7 separate regions of the Homo sapiens genome follow, and all the other regions are linked to region 1. Evidence: promoter capture Hi-C in 16 types of primary human blood cells and fetal thymus (Javierre and others, 2016). All regions are on one chromosome and are shown on one strand. Each heading gives the region's core, a stretch centred on a gene start or on the middle of the fragment in contact. The rest is flanking DNA. Distances are from core to core; before and after follow the strand shown.

The links. Contacts are between HindIII fragments. The CHiCAGO score rates a contact against its expected background, and 5 or more counts as called.
Region 2: a contact is called between a fragment that was not itself captured here and the fragment with the promoter of MCF2L2 in region 1, in 12 of 17 cell types (fetal thymus, activated CD4 T cells, total CD4 T cells and 9 more). The highest score is 8.6, in fetal thymus.
Region 3: a contact is called between a fragment that was not itself captured here and the fragment with the promoter of MCF2L2 in region 1, in 3 of 17 cell types (M1 macrophages, M2 macrophages and activated CD4 T cells). The highest score is 8.5, in M1 macrophages.
Region 4: a contact is called between a fragment that was not itself captured here and the fragment with the promoter of MCF2L2 in region 1, in 14 of 17 cell types (megakaryocytes, endothelial precursors, activated CD4 T cells and 11 more). The highest score is 8.4, in megakaryocytes.
Region 5: a fragment that was not itself captured here is called in contact with the fragment with the promoter of MCF2L2 in region 1 in 2 of 17 cell types (M1 macrophages and activated CD4 T cells); the score reaches 5.3 in M1 macrophages.
Region 6: a contact is called between a fragment that was not itself captured here and the fragment with the promoter of MCF2L2 in region 1, in 10 of 17 cell types (activated CD4 T cells, naive CD4 T cells, naive B cells and 7 more). The highest score is 6.5, in activated CD4 T cells.
Region 7: a fragment that was not itself captured here is called in contact with the fragment with the promoter of MCF2L2 in region 1 in 14 of 17 cell types (M1 macrophages, M2 macrophages, M0 macrophages and 11 more); the score reaches 12.8 in M1 macrophages.

The regions. Positions count from the first base shown.
Region 1 is chr3:183,426,407-183,430,491 of GRCh38, reverse strand. It overlaps MCF2L2 (MCF.2 cell line derived transforming sequence-like 2), which reads left to right and starts at 1,873. Exons shown (of 30, transcript NM_015078.4): 1 at 1,873-2,590. The coding sequence starts at 2,515. RefSeq lists a silencer at 2,044-2,123. The HindIII fragment of the contact is 2,747 bases long and covers 1-2,602 here.
Region 2 is chr3:183,787,901-183,791,985 of GRCh38, reverse strand. YEATS2 (YEATS domain containing 2) reads right to left here. Exons shown (of 31, transcript NM_018023.5): 21 at 1,006-1,189. Among named protein-coding and RNA genes, the nearest start is that of YEATS2-AS1, 21 kb to the left of the region's middle. The HindIII fragment of the contact is 202 bases long and covers 1,793-1,994 here.
Region 3 is chr3:183,074,349-183,078,433 of GRCh38, reverse strand. The region is part of intron 4 of MCCC1 (methylcrotonyl-CoA carboxylase subunit 1); the gene reads left to right. Among named protein-coding and RNA genes, the nearest start is that of MCCC1, 23 kb to the left of the region's middle. The HindIII fragment of the contact is 3,033 bases long and covers 829-3,861 here.
Region 4 is chr3:183,771,357-183,775,441 of GRCh38, reverse strand. It overlaps YEATS2 (YEATS domain containing 2), which reads right to left. Exons shown (of 31, transcript NM_018023.5): 16 at 2,879-3,137; 17 at 1,648-1,809. Among named protein-coding and RNA genes, the nearest start is that of YEATS2-AS1, 37 kb to the left of the region's middle. The HindIII fragment of the contact is 2,373 bases long and covers 956-3,328 here.
Region 5 is chr3:183,093,479-183,097,563 of GRCh38, reverse strand. MCCC1 (methylcrotonyl-CoA carboxylase subunit 1) reads left to right here. Exons shown (of 19, transcript NM_020166.5): 2 at 2,959-3,005. Among named protein-coding and RNA genes, the nearest start is that of MCCC1, 4.0 kb to the left of the region's middle. The HindIII fragment of the contact is 3,557 bases long and covers 586-4,085 here.
Region 6 is chr3:183,749,501-183,753,585 of GRCh38, reverse strand. It overlaps YEATS2 (YEATS domain containing 2), which reads right to left. Exons shown (of 31, transcript NM_018023.5): 10 at 1,333-1,513. Among named protein-coding and RNA genes, the nearest start is that of YEATS2, 54 kb to the right of the region's middle. The HindIII fragment of the contact is 1,156 bases long and covers 1,392-2,547 here.
Region 7 is chr3:183,117,508-183,121,592 of GRCh38, reverse strand. No RefSeq gene overlaps it. Among named protein-coding and RNA genes, the nearest start is that of MCCC1, 20 kb to the right of the region's middle. The HindIII fragment of the contact is 1,570 bases long and covers 1,012-2,581 here.

The sequences.
Region 1 (4,085 bases), core at 624-3,123:
CATTGTCTTCTTTACTAGGCGTTGGTTTCTGCTGACCAAAACTCACAGTTGGCTGTGACTGGGCACCAGGGTTCTGACTACTATCAGTAGGAAACATCTCATTTGGTTCCTTGAAAATTCTTGTGACCCTTGAACGCCGGAAACATAATTCAAAAGCTGCCTCCCCTCCTGCGGATCTTTAACCTTTCTTTTTTTTTTTTTTTTGAGATGGAGTCCCATTCTGTTGCCCAGGCTGGAGTGCAATGGCACGGTCTTGGCTCACTGCAACCTCCGCCTCCTAGGTTCAAGCAATTCTCCTGCCTCAGCCTCCCGAGTAGCTGGGATTACAGGTGCGTGACATCATACCCAGCTAATTTTTGTATTTTTAGTAAAATGGGGTTTCACTATGTTGGCCAGGCTGGTCTTGAATGCCTGACCTTGTGATCCGCTCGCCTTGGTCTCCCAAAGTGCTGGGATTACAGGCGTGGGCCACTACGCCCGGCCTTTTAACCCTTTTTTGAATCTCTTGCAAAAGGTGGTTGTGAAAATGGTTGCTCAGTGGCCGGGCATGATCACTTGAGTCCATGTGTTTGAGACCAGCCTGGGCAATATGGTGAAACTCCATCTCTAAAAACGAAAAAAAAAAAAAAGAAAGAAAAGAAAAAGAAAATCCTTGCTCTGTTTTGCAGGCAGAGTGCAAAGTGCCCAAACTTCACAGGGGGAAGAACCTCTCCACAAATCTCATGACACAGGTGAACTGACCTCGCTTCTCAATCACAGCCCACAATTGTTAGAGAAAGCATTAAAAAGGGCTGGGCGCGGTGGCTCACGCCTGTAATCCCAGCACTTTGGGAGGCCAAGGTGGGCGGATCACGAGGTCAGGAGATCGAGACCATCCTTGGCTAACACGGTGAAACAAACCCCATCTCTACTAAAAAATACAAAAAATTAGCCGGGCGTGGTGGCGGGCGCCTGTAGTCCCAGCTACTCGGGAGGCTGAGGCAGGAGAATGGCGTGAACCCGGGAGGCGGAGCTTGCAGTGAGCTGAGATCGCGCCATTGCACTCCAGCCTGGGCGACAGAGCCAGACTCAGTCTCCAAAAAAAAGAAGAAAAGAGAAAGCATTAAAAAAATACCCTCAGCCCCCTGTGATGGGTGGCTACTCCTAGAATTTGGATCCAGGGTGTTTGCGGCTTGGCTTTTTACATATCGAAGAGGAAAGAGATGGCTGAGAACATCCGCCTGGGTGGTCCCGCCATTCCGCCTGCTGAGTATTCAGGGACTCCCGCTGTAGAAAGGATTGGGGGACAACCTGACCGAATTCGCATTTGCTCAGGCGTTTCCCGTAGCGCTCTGCTGAACTGGGGTTAGTCTTTTGCTGCCAGTCAGAAAGTGTCTGGGCCCAACTAGGGAAACCACGGGATAATGGGCTGATGGGGAGGAGGACCAGCATGGAGGATGTGCCACAGCCCCTCCAGAAGGTAGCACTGGCGTGCCTGACAGGTGACAGACGGAGCAGAGGCAAGGGCGCAGCTGCACGAAGGAAAACGCCCACATAGGGGGTGAGCGCGCCCACGCGTGCTCAGCCTTGTCGGAGCGCAGCCCGGGCGCCGGGCTCCCAGTGCAGGTGTGGCCAGCGGAGGTCAAGAACTGCGTGGAACAACCCCAAGTGGGGGAAAACACACGCCAGCCGCCCCCGGGGTCAGGAGGTGGGGCAAGCAGCGGCGCCTCACCCAGCCTCCCGCTCCGGGTCCTGCCGGATGGCGGCAGCTCTCCGGGCCAGCCCCCTTCTCTCCGCGGCTCCTCCGCAGACACCCGGCGCGGAAGAAGGAGGGGCGGAGACCTGGCCGGCGCGCGTCTGATGATCCGGACCCCGGTGCGACTGGAGCGCCTCAGTCACTGTCTCCCCGCCCCACGGTTCCGAGTAAGGACCGGAGCTCCACTCCGGGGGTGGAGCGCGGGCTCCCCGCAGGGAAAGGTGCGCAGCGTTCCCGACCCCAAAACGAGCGGCGCTTGGGAGCGTGCGTGCCTCCCCGAGAGCCCCGGGCGCCACCCGTGGGCTGGACGAGGTGGGCGCTGGGGCGTGGGGCCGGCGGCGCAGAGAAGCCACGGCCACCTGCCGCCTCCCCTGCACCTGGCGGAGCATCCCTCACTCTACAGTCCCTGGAGGCGGCGCCGGAAACCTGGCGGCCGGGACCGCGATTCTGGAAGCCCCGGAGCTCGCCCGGCCGGAGGAGCCGGGGCGCGGTTCCGGCGAGATTGGCGACTTGCTTCCTTTTGCAGAACGGCCGCTCCTCTCTCGGTCCAGCTGCGACGCTGGGAAAGCGCCAGACTTGGTCTGTCACGGGAGCCCCCGCGGGGCGTGGCGAGGGAGAGCTGGCCTAGGCTGCGAGGGACTCTCGTTTCTTGCCTGGAGAGCCAGGAAGAGGGCGAGGGCAGAGCATCCTTGGGCGGAGATGCCTTTAAAAAATCATCCACCGCAGCGGTAGAAACAGTTTTGTTTGGCTTTATTTATACGGAATGGTTTTTCAGTGAAATGCTGTCTTGCTTAAAAGAAGAGATGCCTCCCCAGGAGCTCACCCGGCGACTGGCCACAGTGATCACTCATGTCGGTAAACGAAGCTTTAATTTTTCCTGCGTTTTATTAATGGCGGGTGAGGATGGTCTCTGGGCTTCATCTGGCTCCTGGCCTCACCCGCTGCCCCGGGGCAGCGCGCTTCCTGGGGGGTTGCCCGGCATCTGGGCCTCGCTGCTCTGGGTCCTGCCTGCGGTGCCCAGCGGGGGGCATCCCTGGGGCGCGCCGCTGGTGGGGGTCGGGGGGCCGAGGCTGGTGCCTTCACCAGGTGGTTGCCGAGTCCGTTGAGCTCCAAACCGAGGGCTGCTGGGCTGTTACCATCCGTTAGCTGCTTCTGACGGGAGTAGGGTGGGTGGGAAGTTATGTTCTGGTTTTGGGGATAGTGAGAAAGGAGAGGGCATAAGAGGAACGAATGCCAGTGCTTTTCAGCAGAAATGATTGCCACGCCACTGAAGGCTTGTTTATAAGAAAGTGCAGGGAGAGGCAGGTTACATGGGAGCGCCCCTGCGCAGCTCGGCCGCTAGGCCTGTTTTACTGTGCTGCCTGGAGGGTTAAGCACACCCCTGATGATCCCCGCGAGAAATCTCTGCAAGCCAAGGAGACTGAGCAATTTTAATCTTCTTCCCTGAGTTGAAAAGAGGAGCAAAACATGCATTGCTTGCTCCTGAAATAAGGGTTGTGATGGAACGTCAGGCCCCACAGACTAAGTAAGGGCAAGAGGACATTGAGACAGTTCCCAGTCAGTTTTTTCTTAGCACTTTCTTCCCCTTGGCCTTCCCTGGACCTCCCTCAGTAAAGACACACATTCAGGTTCAGAACCTCTGGATGTGGGCAACTGGAATTATCGGGATCATTTTCTCTGTTGCTGACTGTGCTTGGAGGTCCTCCCATGAATGCAAATCAGCTTTTATTGATAAAGCCAGGAACTATTTGCCTTGGTTTTCTACACATTTGTGAAAGCTGCTTTCTTGGTACTTGCATGTTAAATGTTGCCTCAATTAGTCCAACGTGTTTGCTGTAATAATCGTGCACATCTCAAATGATACACTTGTGAGGACATACTTTGTAAAGATGATTTATATGGGAAGGCCCAGTTTTGATAATTCAAGTTTAGAAAAAAGTTTCTGGTGCCAATTGTGGGCACTGAACTTTTACGACAAAAGATCAGTAGGATCCTACCAGGTAAGGTTGAATGTGAAATATTGCTGAAGGCAGTGTGAAATAAGAGGAAAAAGAACTTGTAATGAAACAGAATTCGGAATCTGCAATATGATGAAAGTTGAAATGATTGTGCTAAAACCCAGCACAGGCATGAAGTTGTGGTATAGAGAAAGAGCAGTGGACTCGGGGTGTGACCGTCTGGATTTGAATCTTTCCCTGGACAAGTCATTCGACCTCAGGTTGAAAAATAGGAATTTTAATAGTACTTTCCCACTCAGCTCAAAGGCTACTTGTGAAGATAAGTAAGATAATTTGGGTAGAAATACTGTGTACACTGTGATTATACAGACATTTCAGTTATTAGACATATC
Region 2 (4,085 bases), core at 644-3,143, 360 kb before region 1:
GATATATTACAAACTCATTTAAACCTCTCAACCTTATGAAGTAGGTATTATTATCAATCTCATTTACAGCTGAGAAACTGAAGCAAATCACTTCAACTAAGGCAATGTGGTCTCAGGATGTGTGCTCTCTGTTACTCAGAAACAAAAGGTACACTTTTCTGAGGCCCTCTAGTGCAGGCACAAAGACACCATAGCTCTTACTGGATCTCCAGCCTATCACTCTAACACTAGCCAAGATAATAACTAATGTTAAAAATTATGACTTGGAGTCAACAAGGCTAAGATATATTTTATATACTTTATAAAAGCAAAGAAAGGTATACATTTTATAGTGAATTCTATTCGACACTGATTATAGGAAAAAAGAAATTAGTACTTTAAGGAAAGCAAACTCTTGGCTCTCCCCAAAATTACGTTATAAAAAAAGCTAAAATACCCAGTAGGGTTCTGCGTGGCTAAGGGTTTATTATATCATTCAAAAATTCAAATAGTAACTTTCAAATGATAATTTAAAGTCTCAGACAAAATCTGATACGTAGATTTTAAACAAAAATAATTCATCTAAAAAGCAACTGTTCAGAAAATGCTGCTGGGTTAATTACTTTTAACAATTTACCATACAAAATATTGCTTAAGACCCTCCAAAAAAATAGCTGGGCACAGTGGCTCACGCCTGTAATCCCAGCACTTTGGGAGGCTGAGGTGGGTGGACTGCTTGACCTGAGGAGTTCAACACCAGCCTGGGCAACGTGGTGAAACCCCATCTCTACCAAAAACACAAAAAATTAGCTGGGTGTGGTGACATGTGCCTGTGGTCCCTGATAATCAAGAGGCTGAGGTGGGAGGATGGCTTGAGCCTGGAAGGCAGAGGTTGCAGTGAGTCGAGATTGTGATATTGCACTCTAGCTTGGGCGACAGAGTGAGACGCTATCTCAAACAAACAAACAAAAATATTCCAGCCCAATGAGAGAAAAGAGAGAGAAATAATATCACAATGCAACTCACCGGATACTGTGGCTTTCCCAGAGATGGGGTTTGGTGTAGGCACGAGGGACGTGGCGCTGACGACGGTGGGGGTGGCAGCCTTGCAGGTTCCCACGGTGGCCTGGCTCACACACACTTGCTGCTGCCCAGAAGTTTTCGTTACAGAACTGACCGTAGATGAAGACACGGGAGCCATTCCTTCAGACTGCTCACCCATGGGGTCCGAAACAACACAGTTCAGGAAGAAAGCAGAGTGATGACTGACGGCGGTGACGGCCACACAGCACACACACTAAATATCATCTATTAGGTGTTAATGACTACTTAGTAAATGCCATACCATTTAAAAAAGATTACTTCTCTAGTTCAGTGGTTACTATACCTTTACATTTCATGGACCAAGAAAATTTAAAAAATTTAAAACAAGGAAGTATCATGGGGGTCATCATATTTTTAAAATTCACCACCTATTATATCCCTTTATAAAAGGCAACTTCATCACCAAAAAACTAGGAGGACATATTCTCAGAATATACACATGGACTAAAAATGAGCTTTATTAAGAACACATGACAATGATTCACTTCATTGAACAAACATCTACAGTCTGTCACTTCATTGAACAAACATCTACTACATGGCCGGCATAATGGTTAAGTGCTAAGGCTCTGAGAGAAAAGCGACCAAGGAAACAGTCACCTAAGTATAATGATGCTACGGCAAGCACAGGCAAATGTCACCAACACAACCAAGAAGAAAGGCACTGCTTCTGCCTAGGAATAGAAACAGGAGGGTACAGGAAAAAGCTTCAGGTAAAACATTAGGCACTTTAGAGGAATCTTCCAGATTTAAGACAGAGAAAGGGAGAGATGACAGTGTTTCCTGGCAGAGGAGAGTATGTAGAAAGTTGGTGAGGCATGAAAGAACATTGTATGTTCAAGAAGCTGCAAAGCAGAGTGGTGTCACCTGTGAAGAGGCACGGGGAAGCAGCAGCTGCAGGAGATGAAGCTTGAGAAGTCAAGCCACATCATTCAAGTCTGTGGGCTTCCAAGACGATTGAGAGATGGTTTTTCAACAAATGTTTCTAGGCCAACTGGATATTTACATAAAAAAGAATAAAGTTTGGTGTCTACCTCACACCACGTACAAAAATTAACTAGAGCGGCCAGGTGCAGTGGCTCATGCCTATAATCCCAGCACTTTGGGAGGCCAAAGCGGGTGGATCACGAGGTCAGGAGAGCAAGACCCTCCTGGCTAACATGGTGAAACCCCATCTCTACTAATACAAAAAAAAAAAAATTAGCTGGGCGTGGTGGTGGGTGCCTGTAATCTCAGCTACTCAGGAGGCTGAGGCAGGAGAATCACTTGAATCCAGGAGGTGGAGGTTGCAGTGAGCCGAGATCGCGCCACTGCACTCCAGCTTGGGTGACAGAGCGAGACTCTGTCTCAAAAAAAAAAAAAAAAAAAAAAAAAAAATTAACTCGAATGAATCTGAAACCTAAATATAAGAGCTAAATGTATAAAACTTAGAAGAAAACAAAGGCTTGAATTTTGTGGCTTTGGATTAGGCAATGGTTTCTCAGATGTGACATCAAAAGAAAAAGCAATGAAAGAAAAATAGGTAAGTTGGGACTTTAATAAAGACTTGTGCTGGGAAAACTGGATATCTTTATGCAGAAGAATGAAACTAGACCCCTAGCTCTCACCATGCAATCAAAATGGATTAAAGAGTTAAATCTAAGACATCAAACTACGAAACTACTACAAGAAAACATTAGGGAAACTCTCCAGGACATCGGTTTGGGCAAAGATTTCCTGAGTAGTACCTCAAAAGCACAGGCAACCAAAACAAAAATGTATAAATGGGATCACATCAAGTTAAAAAGCTTCTGCACAGCAAAGAAAACAATCAACAAAGAGACAGCCCACAGAATGGGAGGAAATACTGGCAAACTACATATACATCTGACAAGGGATTAATAATCAGAATATAGAAGCTCAAACAACTCTATAGAAAAAAGCCAAACAATCTCATTTGAAAATGGGCAAAAGATCTCAACACACATTTCTCAAAAGAAGACACATAAATGGCCCAAGGGGCATATAAAAAAATGCTCAACATCATTAATTGTGAGAGAAACACAAATCAAAACTACAATGAGAAAGCATCCCACCCAGTTAAAATGACTCTCATCCAAAAGGCTGGCGAGGATGTGAAGAGGGAACCCTCGTACACTGCTGGTGGGAATCTAAGTTAGTACAATCACGATAGAGAACAGTACAGAGGGTCCTCAAAAAACTGAAAATAGAACTACCATATGATCCACATCCCACTGCTAGGTATATACCCAAAACAAAGGAAATGAGTATATGAGGAGACGTCTGCACTTCCATGTTTATTACGGCACTATTCACAATAGCCAAGATTTGGAATCAACCTAAGTGTCCATCACCAGGTGAACGATAAAGAAAATGTGGTACATATACACAATACAATATTATTCCGTTATAAGAAAGAATGAAATCCTGTCATTTGCAACATGGATAGAACTGGAGGACATTATGTTAAGTGAAATAAGCCAGGCACAGAAAGACACATTTCACACGTTCTCACTCATGTGGGAGCTAACAATTAAAACAACTGAACCCATGAAGACAGAGAGAAGAATGGTGGTTACCAGAAGGTGGGAAGGCCAACAGCAGGGAGGGAGGGAGTGGGGATGGTTAATGGGTACAAAAATATAGTTAGAAGGGATGAGTAAGATCTAGTATTTGATAGCACAACAGGGTGACCAAAATTCACAATAATTTCTTATATATTTTACAGTCACAAAGAATACAATTGGTTTAAAAAAAAGATAAATGCTTAGGGTGACAGATACCCCAATTACCCTGATGCGATTATTACGCATTGTATGCCTGCATCAAAACATCACATGTACCCTGTGAATATCCACATTGATTATGTACCCATAATAATTTATTTATATATATTTTTTGAGATGGAATCTCGCTCTACTGTCCAGGCTGGAGTGGAGTGGCGCAATCTCGGCTCACTGCAAGCTCTGCCTCCTGGGTTCATGCCATTCTCCTGCCTCAGC
Region 3 (4,085 bases), core at 1,096-3,595, 350 kb after region 1:
AATTGATAAGCTAATCCTAAAATAGCCAAAAAGCCTAATATATACCTAAAACAATTTTTGAAAAGCTTATGTAACTATTTTGTAGGATTTAGACTCTGTTTCAAAACTCATTATGCCAGGTGCAGTGGCTCACACCTGTAATCCCCAGCATTTTGGGAGACCAAGGTGGGCAGATCACTTGAGGTCAGGAGTTCAAGACCAGCCTGGCCAACATGGTGAAACCCTGTCTCTACTAAAAATACAAAAATTAGCCAGGCATGGTGACAGGTGCCTGTAATCCTAGCTGCTCAGGAGGCTGAGGCAGGAGAATCGCTGGAACCCAGGAGGTGGAGGTTGCAGTGAGCCAAGATCATGCCATTGCACTCCAGCCTGGGAGACACTGCGAGGCTCTGTCTCAAAATATATATATAAAGCTACAATAACCAAAACAGCGTGGTATTGGTATAAGGATAAAAACAGGTCAGTAGAACAGGATAGAAAATCCAAAAATAAACTCACATATGTAGTCAATTGATTTTTGAATAAAGGTGCTAAAGTAATTCAATAGAGGAAAGGAGAGTTTTTCAACAAATAGTGCTGGAGTAATTTGACATCTCTTTGTAAAAAGATGAACCCGAAGTCTAGATCCTAGACTCTTGCCTCACACCTTAAACAAAAAAAATTAACTTACAATATATCACAGACCTAAATGTAAGAGCTAAAACTATAAAACTTCTAGAAGAAAACATAGGAGAAAATCTTTGAGACCTTGGATTAGGCAAAGATTTCTTAGACATAATACTATAAGAAAGGTTCACGAAAAAAAATGATAAAATTGACTTCAAAGCTTGAAACTGTTGCTAGGAAACCTAATTTTTTAAAAAAATGAGCAAAATATTTGAATAGATCCTTCACCAAAGAAGTTATACAAATGACCAGAAAGCCCATTAAAAGATGTTCAACATATTAGCTGTTAGGGAAATACAAATCAAAACCTTGGTGAGATACCACTTCATACTCACTAGGATGCTATAATCAAAAAGAGATGATAACAAGTATTGGTGAGGACTTAGAGAAATTGGAACCCTTCTATGTTACTGATGGGAATGTAAACTGGAGCAGCCACTTTGGAAAACAGTTTTGCAGTTTCTCAAAACGTTAAACATAGAGTTACTTTATGAACTAGTAACTCTACTTCTTCAGTATATACCCAAAAGAAATGAAAACACATCCGCACAGAAATTTATACCTGAATGTTCATAGCAGCATTATTTATAGTAGCCAAAAAAGTAGGAACAATGCAAATGTCTATCAACTGATGAGTGGATAGATAAAATGCAGTATAGCCATACAATGGAGTATTATTTTGCCATCAAAAAGGAATGAAGTACTGATTTGTGTTAAACAAAAAATGGATGAACCTTGAAAATATTACGTTCAGTGACAGAGCCAGTCACAAAAGACTGCATGTATTATATGATTCCATTTATATGAAATGTTCATATAGGTAAATCTATAGAGACAGTAGATTCACAGTTGCCTAGGGCTGGGGGTTTATGGGGAGTGAGGAATGGCTAAGAGGCACAGGATTTCTTTTTGCAGTGTTAAAAACTTACATTATTAGATCTTAGTATTTTAGATTATAGTGATAATTGTGCGACTTTGAGTATACTAAAAATCATTGGGTTGGCCGAGTTTATGGTATATGAATTATATCTCAACAACTATGTTTAAAAAGTGCAGTAACACTATGCACCCACTAGATTGGCCAAAATCAGAAAGACTGATAGTACAACATGTGGGCAGGGATATGGATACACACTTTAAAGCATCATAAATTGCTGGTAGAAATGCAAAATAAAATCATCGCTTTAGAAAAGTTAAATGTATTCTTACCATATTAGGACCAAACAATTGCACTCCTGGGTATTTACCCAAGAGAAATGAAAAATATGTTCACACAGACTTGTCTGTGAATGTTTATAACACCGTTATTCATAATAACCACAAACTGGAAAATAATTCAAATGAATGGGTAAACAAAATGTGGTATATCCATATAACAGAATCCATATTATAAAAAGAAATGAGCTACTGACACACTCCATAACATGAATAAACCTTGAAAAATTATGTGAAGTTAAAGAAGCCAGACACATAATACTATGTACTGTATGATTCTGTTTATATGAATTTTTTTAAAGGCAAAACTATAGAGACAACAAGTCAGTTGTTGCTTGGGTATTGGGAACAGATTGCACATGGGCACATGGGAACTTTTTCAAGTGATGCAGGTGTTCTCAAACTGGATTGTAGTGATCCAATTGTAGTTGCACAATTGTATAGATTTACTAAATTCACCAAACTATAAATGCATGAATATTATGTATTATAAATCATATCTCAAAAGAAAACCCAAACCAGGGAGGACTAGGACATAGACCTGTTTCATTTGCCTAGTATAGATGTTTGACCATTTTATATAAAATACTCAAATTGTGGGAGAAAATATTTGCAAAGTTTGCATCTGACAAAAGTCTAATATCTAGCATCTATAAGGAACTTAAACAGATGTGCAAGAGAAAAACAACCCCATTAAAAAGTGGGCAAAGGACAGCCGGGCACAGTGGCTCACGTCTGTAATTCCAACACTTTGGGAGGCCGAGGCGGGCAGATCACACGGTCAGGAGATGAGACCATCCTGGCTAACATGGTGAAACCCTGTCTCTACTAAAAATACAAAAAGATTAGCAGGGCGTGGTGGCAGGCACCTGTAGTCCCAGCTACTTGGGAGGCTGAGGCAGGAGAATGGCGTGAACCTGGGAAGCAGAGGTTGCAATGAGATGAGATCATGCCACTGCACTCTAGCCTGGGTGACAGAGCAAGACTCTGTCTCAAAAAAAAAAAAAGTGGGCAAAGGACATGAACAGGCACTTCTCAAAAGAAGACATACATGTGACCAACAAACATGAAAAAAAGCTCAATATCACTGATCATTAGAGAAACGCAAATCAAAACCACAATGAGACACCATCTCACACCAGTCAGAATGGCTATTACTAAGAAGTCAAAAAAATAACAGATGTCAGGAGGTTGTGGAGAAAAGGGAACGCTTATACACTGTTGGTAGGAGTGTAAATTAGTTCAACCATTGTGGAAAGCAGCAGGGTGATTCCTCAAAGAGCTAAAAGCAAAACTGCCATTCAACCCAGCAATCCCATTACTGGTTGATACCCAGAGGAATATAAATTATTCTACCATAAAGACACATGTGCATGTATGTTCATTGCATCATTCACAATAGCAAAGTCATTGAATCAGCCTAAATGCCCATCAGTGACAGATTGGATGAAGAAAAGGTGGTACATATACACCACGGAATACTATGCAGCCATAATAAAGCATAAGATCACATCTTTTGCGGGAACATGGATGGAGCTGGAAGCTATTATCCTTAGCAAACTCCCACAGGAACAGAAAACCAAATACTGCATGTTCTCACTTAGAAGTGGGAGCTGAATGATAAGAACTTAAGAACACAAAGAAGGAAACAAAAGACACTGGGGTCTACCTGAGTGGGGAAGGTGGGAGGGAGAGGAGCAGAAAAGATAACTATTGAATACTGGGCTTAATACCTGGGTGACGAACTCTGTACAACAAACCCCTGTGACATGTATTCACCTGTGTAATCTTCACATGCACCCCAAACCTAAAATAAAAGTTAATAAAATAAAATTGAACTTTGGTTTAAAAGATATAAAACTCTAAACTGGCTGCAACATATGAGTATCCAGCATTTTATCTGTATCTGGCATTGCATTGTTTCCTGTCACTAGGATGTGGGTTTTTCTATTCGTATGAGTTTCCCAGATATGTGAAGCTTACCCCTTTAATTTTGAAATGTTCTTTGAGTGTAACTATTTTGAAACAGGATTGGCTGAACCTTTGTGTTTTTACATTGTTTTGGTCATAATTATAATACTCGCTCACATTTTAGAAGAACAAATCCCCTCAGGGCTACTGATGTTGGAGAGGGTGTGGCTTCATCACTCATTAAATCATCCAAGTCTTCTCTGCCTTTTGCCTCCTTCTGTTTCTTCCCTTTT
Region 4 (4,085 bases), core at 893-3,392, 340 kb before region 1:
GTATTTTTAGTAGAGAGGGGGTTTCACCATGTTGGACAGGATGGTCTCGATCTCCTGACCTCATGATCCGCCCGCCTTGGCCCTCCAAAGTGCTGGGATTGCAGGTGTGAGCCACTGCACCCAGCCTCTAGCCAAGTATTTTAATCAACACTTAAATGTGCTCAGCTAGGTGCTTCCCAACTTTTGGGCATCTGATTCAATGTCAGGGAATTGCTGGAATTTAGTGTAACTTTACAGTGCTCGATGTTGTCTCCCTGTCTCAGGAAAAATGAAGACTTTCCTTCATTTACAATGACTCCAGGACCCCATTCTTCTTTGCCTTTCAAATCCCACTTCAAAGCCTTGAAGTCTTTTTACTTCTCTTTTGGTGAGATAATGCATTTGAACTACCTGGACTATGAATATTCACTCAACAAATACTAACTTCCAATTTCCTTCTCCACCTTCATTCCAGTGATTATTGGAATAGCTTCCTTCCCAATGGTTTATTTTTGCACCAAGGATATCACAAGAATCTAAGTAGCTCCCTGGATGACTTCTGAAATATTTACATTGTCCTTTTCTTACACATTTAACTTTTGGACATACCACTGCTTAGGTATGAGGAAAAAACACCAAGTGAGAGTGGAACTGACACATCATGGTCAATGAACGCAAGGATGATGAGCTGACACACTGCATTTTGGCAAGGGCGGTTAACTTCCAATGACCCTGAATGCTGTACCCTTCTACTTCTGATTCAGAGGGAAATAATTTCCTTTTATCCTATCCTTTTCAACACTGCCCAAACGGTTTTTCTCTATATGTCAAAGCAAAAGTTTCTTTAACTGCAGATAAACTGCCTCATTTCCATGGGGCTTTAAGACTTACAAACCTAGGTAGAGTCTGTATTTCTCTTTCCATCTCCAAACCTAGCAGAAGTAAGGAATACATCCAAACCAGCTGTCCCCAAGCTTTGTGGCACCAGGGACCAGTTTCATGGAAGACAACTTTTCCATGAATTGGGACAGGAGGCGGGGGGTGGTTTGGGGAAGAAATTGTTCCACCTCAGATCATCAGGCATTAGATTCTCATAAGGAGCACACAACCTAGATCCCTCGCATGCACAGTTCTCAACAGGGTTCGCGCTCCTGTGAGAATCTGATGCCACTGCTGATCTGACAGGAGGCGGAGCTCAGGCAGTAATGCTTCTTCGTCCATGCTCAACTTCTGCTGTGCGGCCCAGGGGTTGGGGACCCCTGATCTAAATGAAGTCAAACAGACACACTCGATTCCAATCCTATGCCAACCTATCCCCAAAAACAGACTTCCAGCTTCTATAAGTAGATGGATCTTCCCTCAGGTATCACCAGATAATTTTCAGACACCACTTCATTCATGGTTCATGTAGACAGCTTTCTCCCAACAGCCTCACCAGCCATCTCTCTCCAGAGTGATTCATCTCTGATTGCAAACGCTGAGGAGCAAACCCACTTCTAGTTAAATTATCGTATGTGTTAAATCCATCTGAGCAAATGCTACCATTACACCACCCAACAGAGTTACAGAAATGCTTCCTGAAACAGGTAAGAACTGCCCTCAGATGGACAAGATGAACACACATAGAGAACCAAGAACCAAATGATTCAACCCAATGGTTTCACTAACTAGCATTGTTCGTAGCTCGCAGGATGGCTCCTTGAGGGATCAGCAGCAGTTTTCCTTTTCCTGAAGGGTTCTTGCTGTTTGTAGTTAGGTAGAGTTTAGTGCCAGGAGGCAAATTTGCCAAGTTGGCCAAATTAGTGGCTGGTAGCTGCAACGTTGCCATTACTAAAATGGTAAAGGAGAAAAAATTGTAAGATAAATTGAAACTAAGGGCAACACTCTAAAATTAAAATACAAGGCAATAAATTCTTATTTTAGAACACTAACAAGCAATAAATTCAAAGTTTGTTTCCCAGATGCACAATGCTTTAAAGACTGATATTCTTAAATATCTTGCTAATTAAAAAATAATTTATAGACCAGAAGAGCCTGCCAGAGGCTCTTTATATCTGTATATAATAGGATGATCGTACGTCCTGGTTCTGCCCAGAACAGTTCTAGGTTACACCTGTCCCACTATAATTATTAATAATGACTCTTTTTACTCTCCAAAGTACTGTGGTTTGGACGATTAATGAAATAATCACCCTGTCTATGGAGGATTACATATTTTCCCCCATTTGTTTAAAGTCAAAGTTAGGGCAAATGTGTGCTCCTAACTGGCAAGTACCATTGGCCCTCTGTATCTGTGGATTTCACATCCATGGATGTAACCTACCTCAGATAAAAAATATCCATATATTTGGCAGACAAAAGGATGAGTACATCTGTACTGAACATGTACAGACTTTTTTCTTGTCATTATTCCTTAAACAACACAGTGTAACAACTATTTACATAGCATATACATTGTTATTACATTGTTATTTACATTGTTATTAGGTATTAAGATAACCTAGAGATGATATAAAGTAAAGTACATCAGAGGATGTACATAGGTTATACGTAAACAGTACAGCATTTTACACAGGGGACTGTGGATTAGCATCTGTGGATTTTGCTATCTGCAGCAGGGGGTCCTGGAACCAATCCCCCACAGTACTGAGAAATGATTTGTTCGTGTGTGTGTGTGTATGTGGGTGTGTGTGTGTGTGTGTGTAAATTTAAAGCTAAATACTCACAGACCTTTATGTAAAATGTCCCATAAAAAAGAACAAACATTTCAATACACTTCTTACAGCATCAACCTAACTAGGCTTTCCTAGACCAGATCAAATAGCAAATAAAATCACTAGCAAAGGAAATTTTGGACAGAGCTTCTGCTGAAAGGGCTCCCAGTGATGATCCGTTTTACCTGAACCCTGGGATCCACTCTTCTGAGGACCAGCGGCAGTAACCTGGGCCTTGGTTAAGGTCTGCACTGGCTGAGCAACAATGGTTCCTCCACCTCCACTCACAATTGCTTTGGCAACTCCTTGGGTTACAACTTGCTTTGGCCCAACTGCTTTGGAGACAGAAGAGCTGGCCTTGGCTACCAGGATCTGGCCACCACTGATCGCCACAGCCTGCTTCACTGTTGAAGGTAAAGCAGACCCAACTGGTACCCCGACAACCTGTTCAAAACAGAGCAGAGTCCAACGGTGCTTCGAGAGCTCTTAGAACAGCAGTCACCGTTTTGGCAGAGAGCAAAACAAAGGCCTGCACATAATACATGCAGCCTAATTCAGTCATCTAGGAAAGCTACCTACACAGGTGTGAACGGCAACTGTATTTCTTACACTTGGGTATTACAATAATAGAAGCTTAACAATTGTTGTCTTGCCTCAGCTACTTTTTATAATTTACTTTAATAGAAAATTTGGGAAATTCAGAAGTATAAAGAAAAAAGTTTGGCCGGGCGTGGTGGCTCATGCCTGTAATCCCAGCACTTTGGGAGGCCAAGGCAGGAGGAGCATTTGTGGTCAGGAGTTCGAGACCAGCCTGGCCAACATGGTGAAATCCAATCTCTACTAAAAATACAAAAATTAGCTGGGCATGGTGGCACACACCTGTAGTCCCAGCTACTCTGGAGGCTGAGGTAGGAGAATCCCCTGAACCTAGGATGTGGAGGTTGCAGTGAGCCAAGATCATGCCACTGCACTCCAGCCTGGGTGACAGAGTGAGACTCTGTCTAAAAAAAAAAAAAAAAAAAAAAAAAAATTAGCCAGTACAGTGGCACACATCTGTAGTCCCAGCTATTCAGGAGGCTGAGGCAGGGGAGGATCCCTTGAGCCTAGGAGTTCAAGGCTGCACTGAGCCGTGATCACACCACTGCCCTCCAGCCTGGGTGACAGAGCAAGACCCTAAGAAAAGAAAAAAAAAAAAAAAAAAAAAAGGCAAGAATAATATTTAACTATTAAAAAAAAAAAAGACCCCAGTACCCAAATAATGAAAATTAGAAGTATCTAGTTCCAAAAGTAAAATGAATTCTTTTAAGAAAATACTCAGGAGTGTTTTTAAAACAAAGTCAACAGTAGGATGTTAAATTAAACACTGAATGAATGGCAAACTGGAGCAGTGTT
Region 5 (4,085 bases), core at 1,115-3,614, 330 kb after region 1:
AATTAGCCAGGCGTAGTGGCACACACTTGTAGTCACAGCTACTTGGGAGGATGAGGAGGGCGAGGACGGCCTGAGTCCAGGGGTTCCAGGCCGTAGTGAGCCATGATCACACCACTGTACTCCATCCTGGGTGACATCCCATCTCAAATAAAACAAAAACAAAAAAATCTTAACAGCACAGATAGTTTACATTATTTTTATGTTATGAATCTTTAGTAGCTCACAGAAAATAATCTCTGGTGGCAGAATTATAGACATGACAATAAGCTGGTATAGAGCTACCTTGAATCAGGGAAGCAGCTTCTTTTTTTTTTTTTGAGACGGAGTCTCGCTCTGTCGCCCAGGCCGGACTGCGGACTGCAGTGGCGCAATCTCGGCTCACTGCAAGCTCCGGGGAAGCAGCTTCTTAATCTTGTTTAAGCCATTGCTTTTAAGTTGCAGCTTAGATAATTGTGAAAAATGGAATAGATGATCAGAACATTGTTGGGATAGTGGATTACAGTTAAGTGGGATCTCTGTCTCTTTCTCCCTCTTTTTCCCTCTCTCCCTTCTTCTGTCTTCACTAGAAGATTGCAAAAGAAAGCTTTAGGTCAACAGTAGCCTTGAAACCGAATCAGTCTTAAGCTAGCTTTACCAACAAGCAACCATTTAATAGATACATCTGCCCAGAATAGGCCTTGAAACTTATCAGAAGCCTATCTGAAGAATGTAAAGGGAAGACGATGCTATGAGCTAGAAAATACCTCATAAAGATCAGGAAAGATGATCCCCCTCCTTCAGGATCAAGAAGGTAACATCAGCTGAAATGGAAAGGTGTGGGAAAGCAGCAGCCTCGTGAGGAAGCTAGCTCACGGAACTCTCCTGCCAAAGCTGTGGGTCTTCCCAGCAGCTCCTCATGGATGGCAGCATCTGAGTGTGCATTGTAGGGCAATGAGTGTATAGACGCATATAGATGTGTAGATGTCTACTGCATCTCCGCTCCAGTGAAATACTAGTCCTGCTCAACTACATAGTCATATACATAATATGTATATACTACTGCCTAGTTACATAGTTTCTAATGCACACGCTGTGCTTTTATCTTGTGCTTTGTGAATAATCTAAAATGGTTAGTTAGTCCTTTATAACCACATCTTCCAGGTATAGACAAAAAGATAGGTGGAATTGCTTCTGTAATTTGTTTGTTTCCCTGCATATGCTTTTTATTTATTTATTTATTTTTTTTTTTGAGATGGAGTCTCACTCTGTCACCCAGGCTGGAATGTAGTGGCACGATCTTGGCTCACTGCAACCTCCACCTCCCAAGTTCAAGTGATACTCCTGCCTCAGCCTCCCAAGTAGCTGAGATTACAGGTGCGCACCACCACACCTGGCTAATTTTTGTATTGTTAGTAGAGATGGGGTTTCACCATGTTGGCCAGGCTGGTCTCGAACTCCTGACCTCAGGTAATCCCCCCACCTCAGCCTCTCAAATTGCTAGGATTACAGGCGTGAGCCACTGCACCCAGCCCACTTATCCTCTTTAGCTGAAACTTAATAGACGTTATACTTTTTTGTTCCTAAAGTGAATCTGGCCTGTTTTCTGTCAGCTCTTGGTTACTTTATTTTATACACAGGTATCACGAAACTTAAAAATTGTTGAGACTTCTACCTCATTAAAATACCTCAAGTCATTTTGTCTCCCCATTTCTCCATTTTTTTAAATACAAGGACTTGGAATAGAATTGTATAGTACTTTTAAATCTGAGAGGTACCTTCAAGATCACCTCTTATAGTCTCATCTCGTGTGTGAGAACACTGAAGCCCAAGCTATTAAATCTTGCATCCTCAACTGGGATGATACCACCGCTAAAGGGTGGAAATTGATTCTTAGGAGAGCCAGGAAATCTTAGATTTTGTCATGGTTTACGGCTTTCCAAAGCTCAACCTTACCCCACCCTTCCTACAAGGAATAAAATCTTTTAAAAGTTTTCTCATTAGGAGAGTAATAATGAAAAAAAAGTTGGAGAAACACTGATGTAAAGTGACTCGACCCTGGGCAAGCTGGTCATTGGAGGGACTCGGATGAGAATGCAGCTTTTCTGGTCCCACAGCCAACATTCTTTCTGTTGCCCCTGTTTAACTTCCGTTTATTTCTCTGGTCTTACTTTTTAAACATGTCTCATGTTTAAACTTGATTGGTATTTTTCAAACTGTAGATTGACCAGCATATTTTAATAAAATAGGATACAACTGAAAGAACCAAAAGAGTTTTGTTCTTTTTGTTTTTGTTTTTTTTTTTGAGACGGAGTCTCGCTCTGTCACCCAGGCTGGAGTGCAGTGGCCCAGTCTCGGCTCACTGCAAGCTCTGCCTCCTGGGTTCACGCCATTCTCCTGCCTCAGCCTCCCGAGTAGCTGGGACTACAGGTGCCCGCCATGACGCCCGGCTAATTTTTTGTGTTTTCAGTAGAGACAGGGTTTCACCGTGTTAGCCAGGATGGCCTCAATCTCCTGACCTCATGATCTGCTTGCCTCGGCTTCCCAAAGTGCTGGGATTACAGGTGTGAGCCACCGTGCCTGGCCAGGGCAGAATGAGTCATTTTTAACAAAACATCTGTTTTCATTAAGTGTGTGTCCTGGGTAGTTTGTATTGTGAGTTGTAGCCAAAAAGGTTTCAAAAAAGCTAAACTAGATGATGTTGGTATACCTTGGTTGTTTAATCATCTCTGACTGTGGTCTTATGCCAGCCTCAGGAACAAGCAGGCTAGGTGACTCATTCAAGGACAGGTAGTACGAGGGAAAACAGCCAGAACTCTAACTCTTGAGTTCTAGATTAGTTTTCTACCCACTAAGAAAGTCTTACTAAAGCACTGTTAGTTGGCTTAAGGTTTCATGTTTTAAGAAACTGAAATTCTTTTGAAAGAACAATTGTGTTGCCTATTCTGTTTAATTGTAATTCCTTTTGGATTTATGTTATAGGACATGGGTGTGGAGGCAAAGAACCATGAAGTACACAACAGCCACAGGTACTGACAGACTTTGTTGTTCTATTTGATTTTGCTTCAGACTGGAAGTGTTTAAGAAAGGGAAATGTTTAATCCCTTAATATATGCATAATAGAATTAGTTATCATAAATTTTGGATTTTCACGATAATTTTCTAGGAAGTGTTAAGTCATGGTTTTCACCTCTTTTGTATCAAATCTCTCTTGCTGTTAAGTCTAAAATACAGAGGGCAGCCGGGCGCAGTGGCTCATGCCTGTATCCCAGCACTTTGGGAGGCTGAGGTGGGTGGATCACCTGAGGTCAGGAGTTCGAGACCAGCCTGGACAACATGGCAAAACCCTGTGTCTACTAAAAAATACAAAAATTAGCTGGGCGTGGTGGCGGGTGCCTGTAATCCCAGATGCTTGGGAGGCTGAGGCAGGAGAATTGCTTGAACCCAGGAGGCGCAGGTTGCAATGAGCCAAGATCTCGCCACTGCACTCCAGCCTGGGCGACAGAGCAAGACTTCGTCTCAAAAAAAAAAAAAAAAAAGTAAAAATAAATAAATAAAATACAGAGGGCAATAATGGAGAACATTTTATATTCGTTTGTTCTTTCTGTCCATTTGACCCTCTTAGTGTATTGGATTGGAAAATCATAACTACGATGGTCTAAAGCAGTTCTTTGAAAAAGCTATTTTAAGTAGCAAAACCTTTTTTTCCAAATAAAATTTAACATGGAATTCCCAACTATGAAACATATAAAAGTGTAATAAAGTATAACTTCTAGCTGATTGGATATAGCCCTCTACCTACTGTGCTCTCCTTCCCCTGCCCACACTCATACATATGTCATCCATCAGCCCCTGTGACAACTCTTGGGCTCCATAGAGCCCCATCGAAAAACACTTTTAAATTAGGTGCAACCTTTTTTTTTTTAAAAGGAGAAATAACTTTATTATGTTGAGCCTATGGATTCTATTGAAGAAATAACTTTATTATGAACTGTCAAAGAACATTTATTTCACGTGTGATATTAGAAGTACATTTTATATATGCAGTAGCTTGTCATTATGGTGCCATGCCAGTAGACTGGTACAAGAGTCACTTGTGTTGCAAGAGA
Region 6 (4,085 bases), core at 720-3,219, 320 kb before region 1:
AGTAGAGACGGGGTTTTGCCATGTTGGCCAGGCTGGTCTTGAACTCCTGACCTCAGGTGATCCGATGGTTTCAGCCTCCCAAAAGGCTGGGAATTACAGGCATGAGCCACCGTGCCCGGCCCCTCTTGTATCTTATTAAATGCCCATAAAAAAGATGCAATTGAAATCTAAAGAGGAATAAAGTTGAGATTTTATAAAAGAACTATAATACTAACCACATTAAAATATAGGCTTAGAAATAAAACATTTAAGATCAATTTTATATCTTTTATGCTTATATATGGGAACATTAAAATATGTATTTATACACATATATTTGTTAAATTTAAAAATGGCATGGTCAAAATACATTGTTGGTGATGAATCTTTTCTTAAGTAAAACCAGGTATTTAATATCCAAGTTTCTTGCTCGCACAATCAGAAGCTGAACCATAAAGTCTTCCTGTAATACATTATAAGGAATTATCAAGTGATAAAAATCTGTTTTAGGCCAGGCGTGGTGGGTCATGCCTGTAATCCCAGCACTTTGGGAGGCCAAGGTGGGTGGATCACCTGAGGTCATGAGTTCGAGACCAGCCTGGCCAACATGGTGAAAACCCATCTCTACTAAAAATACAAAAATTAGCCGAGAGCGGTGGTGGACGCCTGTAATCCTAGCTAACAGGGAGGCTGAGGCAGGAGAATTGCTTGAACCCAGGAGGTGGAGGTTGCAGTGAGGCGAGATCATGCCACTGCACTCCAGCCTGGGCAACAGAGCAAGACTCCATCTCAAAATAAAATAAAATAAAAATAAATTTAAAAATCTTATGTTTTTTAGCTATTTTTACATTTTATAATATGTCAGTAAAACTTCATGGAAATTTTTTTTTTTTTTTTTGAGATGGAGTCTCGCTCTGTTGTCCAGGCTGGAGTGCAGTGGTACCATCTCAGCTCACTGCAAGCTCCACCTCCCGGGTTCGAGCCATTCTCCTGCCTCAGCCTCCCGAGTAGCTGGGACTACAGGCACCCACCATCACACCCAGCTAAATTTTTGTATTTTTAGTAGAGACGGGGTTTCACCGTGTTAGTCAGGATGGTCTTAATCTCCTGACCTCATGATCCACCCGCCTTGGCCTCCCAAAGTGCTGGGATTACAGGTGTGAACCACAGCTCCCGGCCGGAAAAATATTTTTGACAAGAGTGGAAATTTGGCTTTCATAACAGAACTGTGTAGTAGAGGCAGCATGTCCACTTATAGCAAAGTTATTTTCCATATACTATAGGTCTCTGAAAGCAGCAAATGGGAAAGGAATGCCTCAGAACAACGCTATGCAAGGAAAACTGCTGTATTACCTTTCTCCACAGAGGTATCGGGTACTGGCTCATGTGACTGCTTTATTGGTGAAGAAGCTTTCACTGGGGCTGGAATGGTCAAAGGCAAAGATGGAGGGGCATCAGAGATGTCAGACTCCGAGGACTGAGGATAGATACAGTCTTCTCCGAGAGAATGGCGATGGAGTTCAACATCCACTACCTAGACAATTGGGCAACAATCAGGCTCATGAGTCCATCATCAATGTCACAGAAAGCTCAAGTCCCGTCCAAGAATGTAATCTCCGGGATGTGAGAGATAACTTCTAATCACACTTCAAAGGCAATTTCAATCTGAAGAACTAAAGGATTTATTCTAGAAGGTAATCTAATCTGGCTTAACAGACACATACCTCAGTGAAAATCTAATCTGGTTTAACATACAAATCTCAGTGAAATTATTCACAAAATTGGGACCTCTTGATTTTGCTGTTGCTACTCCTTACAACGCTATTCCTCCAAATCTTTGCATGGCTGCCTTTCTCACCAGCAGGTCTCAATGAAGTAGCACCTTCTCAGAGAGACCATGCCTAACCACCCAAGAATAAGCTACTTCCTTATCCCCCAGCTACTCTTATCTTCACAGCACTTATTTGTAACTGAAGTAATTTTATTTGCTTTTGTGTTTACTGTCTACCCTCCCCATTTTCAATGCCACTAAGAATTTGACTCTGAAGGAAGAAGCTACCGTGTTCATTTCTGTATTCCCAGCACCTGGACCAGCGCTCAATAAGTACCTTCTGATATAATACAGCAGATTTCTCTAGACAGAGTAAGATTTAATTAGTGAACTCTGATTAAATGGCTATTGCTGATTATTATATGATGAATACAAAAAAAGGGAGAGAAGGTGAAGAACAAAGTTGGAGGTCTCAGACTCCTGATTTCAAAATTTATTACAAAGCCATAGTAATCAACAGTATGCTGCTGGCATAAAGACAGACATACAGACCAATGGAACAGAATAAATCCTCACATATATGGTCAAATGATCTTTGACAAGGGTCCCAAGACCATTCAGTGGGGGAAAAGACAGTATTTTCAGCAAATGGTGCCAGGGAAACTGGATATCCATATGCCAAAGAATGCAATCGGACCCTTACCTTACACTATATACCAAAATTAACTCAGGATCAAAGAACGAAACATAAAAGCTAAAACAATAAAACTCCTAGAAGAAAATGTAAGGGAAAAGCTTCATGACACTGAATTTGGTAATGGTTTCTTGGACACGACACCAAAAGCACAGGCAACAAAATAAAAAATAGACAAACGGGACATCAAACTTAAAAACTTCTGTGCATCAAAGGACACAATCAACAGAGTGAAAAGGCAAAAATATAACACGGAATGGAAGTAAATATTTGCAAATCATCTATCTGGTAAGGGGTTACTATCCAGAATATATGAATAACTCCTGTCACTTAGCAACAACAAAAACCAAACCACCTAATTTAAAAATGGGCAAAGACATTTTCTGAATGTCTCTGAATAGACATTTCTCCAAAGAAGATAAACACATGGTCACCAAACACATGAAGGGATCCTCAACATCACTAATGATTAGAGAAACACAGATCAAAACCACAAGATATCACATCACAAACAACAGAATAACTACTATAAATTAAAATACAAAAAAAATTAACAAATGCTGGTGAAGACGTGGAGAAACTGGAATACGTGTGCACTGTTGGTGGGAATGTAAAATGGTGCGGCTACCACGAAAAAATATAGCAGTGGTTCCTCTAAAAATAGAATTACCATAGGATCCAGCCAATTCCATTTCTGGGTATATACCCAAAAGAACTGAAAGCAAGGATTTGAATAGATACCTGTACACCTACGTTCATAGCAGCACTATTAACAACAGCCAAAAGCTGGAAGCAACGCAAGTGTCCATCAGCAGGTGAACGGATAAACAAAATGTGGTATATACATACAATGCAGTATTATTCAGCCTAAAACAGGAAGAGGGGCGGGGCACAATGGCTCATGCCTATAATCCCAACACTTTGGGGGGCCAAGGCAGGCGGACAGCTTGAGCCCAGGAGTTGAAGACAAGCCTGGACAACATAGTGAGACCCTGTCTCTACAAAAAATAAACAAGTAGGCCGGGCGCGGTGGCTCATGCCTATAATCCCAGCACTTTGGGAGGCCGAGGCAGGCAGATCATGAGGTCAGGAGATCAAGACCATCCTGGCTAACACAGTGAAACCCCGTCTCTACTAAAAATACAAAAAAAAAAAAATTAGCCGGGCGTGGTGGCAGGTGCCTGTAGTCCCAGCTACTCAGGAGGCTGAGGCAGGAGAATGGCGTGAACCCGGGAGGTGGAGCTTGCAGTGAGCCGAGATCGAGCCACTGCACTCCAACCTGGGCAACAGAGCGAGACTCCATCTCAAAAAATAAATAAATAAATAAACGAGTAAGTAAATAAATTAGCTGGTCATGGTGGCACACGCCCACAGTCCCAGCTACCTGACAGGCTAAGGACAGATTACTTGAGCCCAGGAGGTCAAAGCTGCAGTGAGCCGTGATTGCACTCCAGGCTGGGTGAGAGAGAGCAAGACTCTTTCTCAAAAATAAATAAATAAAAATAAATTTTTTTACAAAGGAAGGAAATTCTGACATACGCTACAACATGGATGAAATCTGAGGACATTATGCAAAGCGAAATAAGGCAATCCCAAAGAGACACATATGTTATGATTCCACTTATATGAGGTACCCTAGAG
Region 7 (4,085 bases), core at 547-3,046, 310 kb after region 1:
CACTGCACTCCAGCCTGGGCGACAGAGCGAGACTCCATCTCAAAAAAAAAGAGAGAGAGAGAGACTGACCAAGATGAAAGCCGTCATATTTTTATAACCTAATCACAGAAGAAACATACTATCGCATGTCTGTTTATGGTTCACACAAACCATCTCTGGTACACTGTGGAAGGGGACTACACAAGGGCTCGAATATCAGATTTTAGTCCATTCTGTGCCATTATCACAGAATACCACAGATTTTTTGATAACTTACAAGCAATAGAAGTTGATTTGGTCATGGTTCTGGAGCCTGGGAAGTCCAAGATGGAAGGGCCAAATCTGATGTGCATCTTCTTGCTGCCTTGTAACATGGTAAAAGGCATCACATGGTGCGAGGACACAGAAGAGAGAGCAAGAGGGGGCCCCACACTTGTAATAATAGCATTAATCCATCCACGAGGGCAGAGCCATCATGACCCCACTGCCTCTTAAAGGTCCCGCTTCTCAACACTGTTGCATTGTAGATTAAGTTTCCAACATATGGTTTGGGGGACACCTTCCAACCACAGCGCCGGGAGAGGGAGGAACCCCTGGAGGCAGCGTGGATGCTGCCTACCTCAGGTGCCTACTGTCAAGGTGAACATTGTGGAATTCGTGGTTTACTTTTTGGAGGGAACTTCAGTAAATAAATTCCAGTATATATACTAAGATAAGTGGATTAATAGGAACATATACAAGGGATGATGAGAGCAAGGCCCTTTCCAGCCTGCTTCCAACCCTGCCCCAGGTGTAGCACCTCCTCAGGAGCACAGCCTCCCAATCCCTGGTGATGAAGGTCCATTGACCACAGGGTCTGGTGTTGACCCATTGGTCTACAGCACTGACGTCACGGCTTCACCTTCCTAAAAGAAAGTAGCCAGGATGGCTCCAGCCCCTACCCAATCTGCCCCACCTTTGTTCTTCTCACACTTTTCTTGCTTTGTAAGGTCCTAGATCCCCCCTCTGGACTCCTGTTTGGGGCTCTAAGCTTGAAGGCCAAGAAGGTCTGAGGACACAAATACATGAGCCACTCCTTCCTGACCCGGGTCTTGGTTCTCTAGGATGATTTGCTGTGAGGTTTCCCTCTGCCCACTAAGTAAAAGGAATATAAACTATAAAAAGAATGGAAGAAGAATCTCTGCCAATGAAAAAAGAGTTTCATTTTATAATACTCCAGCCCCTCGCTCATCAACAAGTCCCTTCACCCCACCTTAGTGCCTCCAAGAGATGCCAATTTTGGTCAAGTGTTGGCAGGCATAAATAAGAGATGTTTAGGCCAGGTGCCATGGCTCACACCTGTAACCCTAGCACTTTGGGAGGCTGAGGCAGTTGGATCACCTGAGGTCAGGAGTTTGAGACCAGCCTGGCCAATGTTGTGAAACCCCATCTCTGCTAAAAATATAAAAATTAGCCAGGCATGGTGGTGGGCACCTGTAATCCCAGCTGTCTGGGAGGCTGAGGCAGGAGAATCATTTGAACCTGGGAGGTGAGGTTGCAGTGAGCCAAGATCGTAGGACTGCCCTCCAGCCTGGGCAACAGAGTGAGACTCTGTCTCAAAAAAAAAAAAAAAAAAAAAAAAAAAAAGAGATGTTTTATTTTGTTTTTAACTTAACTAGTTTTATATTAAGACCAAGATTGACTAAAGATAAAATTGTGAAATAAATTCTGTTATCAAAATTATAAAATCTCTTTTGCTTTCCAGATATTCCCTCATGCTGTCCTGGCAAACTTTCTTCTTAAGTGCTCATGTATTCTTCTAACTTCCTCATACCTCCACCAGCCCCACCACCCCACCCCAACATGCTTTGGCTGACCCCAACAATGTTATTCACTCACTCAATTCCATTTTTTTTTTAAACGGAGTCTCACTCTGTCACCCAGGCTGGAGTACAACGGCACAATCTCGGCTCACTGCAACCTCTGTCTCCTGGGTTCAAGCAATTCTCCTGCCTCAGCCTCCTGAGTAGCTGGGATTACAGGTGTGCACCACCATGGCCAGCTAATTTTTGTATTTTTAGTAGAGACGGGGTTTCACCATGTTGGCCAGGGTAGTCTCAAACTCCTGACCTCAGGTGATCCACCCTCCTCAGCCTCCCAAAGTGCTGGGATTACAGGGTCGAGCCACCGTGCACAGCCATTTTTTAAATTTTTTATTTTATTTTATTTTATTTTGAGACAGGGTCTCGCTCTGTCACCCAGGCTGGAATGCAGTGGTGTGATCACGGCTTACAGTAGCTTCAACTTCCCAGGCTCCAGCGATCCTCCCACCTCAGCCTCGAAGGTAGCTGGGACTACAGGTGCGTGCTATCACACCCAGCTAATTTTTAATTTTTTTTTTTGTAGATACGTGGTCTTGCTATGTTGCGCCAGCTGGTCTAAATTTCTGGGCTCAAATGATCCACTCACCTCTGCCTCCCAAAATGCTGGGATTACAGGCATGAAGCACCAATCCTGGCTCATTATCATGTGTTAGTAACCCATTGTGGAGTCGTCTTTTATCCCTCCCAAGGCCACGTGCATTTTGTCAAAAGACATTACCTTAATCCAAAGGCATAAAGCTTCGACTAAGTGCAATGGCTCACACCTGTAATCCCAGCACTTTGGGAGGCCAAGGGAAGCAGATCATTTGAGGCCAGGAGTTCGAGATCAGCCTGGCCAATATGGCAAAACCCCATCTCCACTAAAAATACAAAAATTGGCTGGGCATGGTGACACGCACCTGTAGTCCCATCTATTCGGGAGTCTGGGGCATGAGAATTGCTTGAACCCAGGGAGCGGAGGTTACAGTGAGTTGAGATAGCGCCACTGCACTCCAGCCTGGGTGACAGAGTGAGACTCTGTCTCAACATCGACAACAAAACAAAGGCATAAAGTTTTATGTGTGAGGTTTTAGGCCTGAGCACAAGATTAGCAAGAGGAATCTTTCAAGGCAGCAGGATCTCCTGGCCTCCATCTATTCTCACCACCTGCCAGGAGTCCCTACCCACACTTCCTGTTAAGATAGCTCTGATTATAAGCTTGTTCTATACTCACCTGCCTCTGTAGCTTCACTAGCTATTGGATGGACACTTTTAATTGGACAGTTTTAAAAGACATTACCGGCTGGGCGCGGTGGCTCACACCTGTAATCCCAGCACTTTTGGAGGCGGAGGCGGGTGGATCGCAAGGTCAAGAGATCGAGACTATCCTGGCCAACATGGGGAAACCCCGTCTCTACTAAAAATAAAAAAATTAGCTGGGTGTGGTGGTGCACACCTGTAGTCCCAGCTACTCGGGAGGCTGGGGCAGGAAAATCTCTTGAAACCAGGAGGCGGAGGTTGCAGTGAGCCAAGATAGTGCCACTGCACTCCAGCCTGACAACAGAGTGAGACTGTCTCAAAAAAAAAAAGTCAGCCAGGCATGGTGGTGCACACCTGTAATCCCAGCTACTCAGTAGGCTGAGGCAGGAGAATTGCTTGAACCTGGCAGGCGGAGGTTGCAGTGAGGCAAGATAGTGCCACTGCACTCCAGCCTGGGTGACAGAGCGAGACTCCATCTCAAAAAAAAAGAGAGAGAGCTATTGCCACGTTTGCCCCAAAGCCACAAGCATCTTCCACAGGCAGCTCCCAGACAATGACTGAGCATGCAGGGATACTAAGGTGAAACCATTCCCGGGACACATTGTCCTCATCTGACAGCTGACTTTGGCTTGAGAACTTCTCAACTGCCAGAACTTCCCCAGACTGCACGGCAGAAATGCTTCTGCCCAGTGCTCTTTCCCTTTCTCCTTCATGCAAGTTCAAGCTGGCATCATGGTCTGAAAACTCTCCAGCACCTTGGCTCCCTCACCATTTTCTCCCACAGACTTTTCACCTGATAAAGTCTGGCATGGTTAATCCCATCTTGGCATCTTTTTCTTTAAAGTCCCAGACTAACGTAAGTGGTGCTGAAAGTGCCCCAAGAAAAGAGGCAGTAGGAAGGGGATTTGGAACTGGCTCACCCATCACCCAGCAGATGAGGGGATACTGTCCTGGTTGATAGGTGGACGCAGATAGTTCCTGGACCTGGGTGGCAGCTCAGTTGCT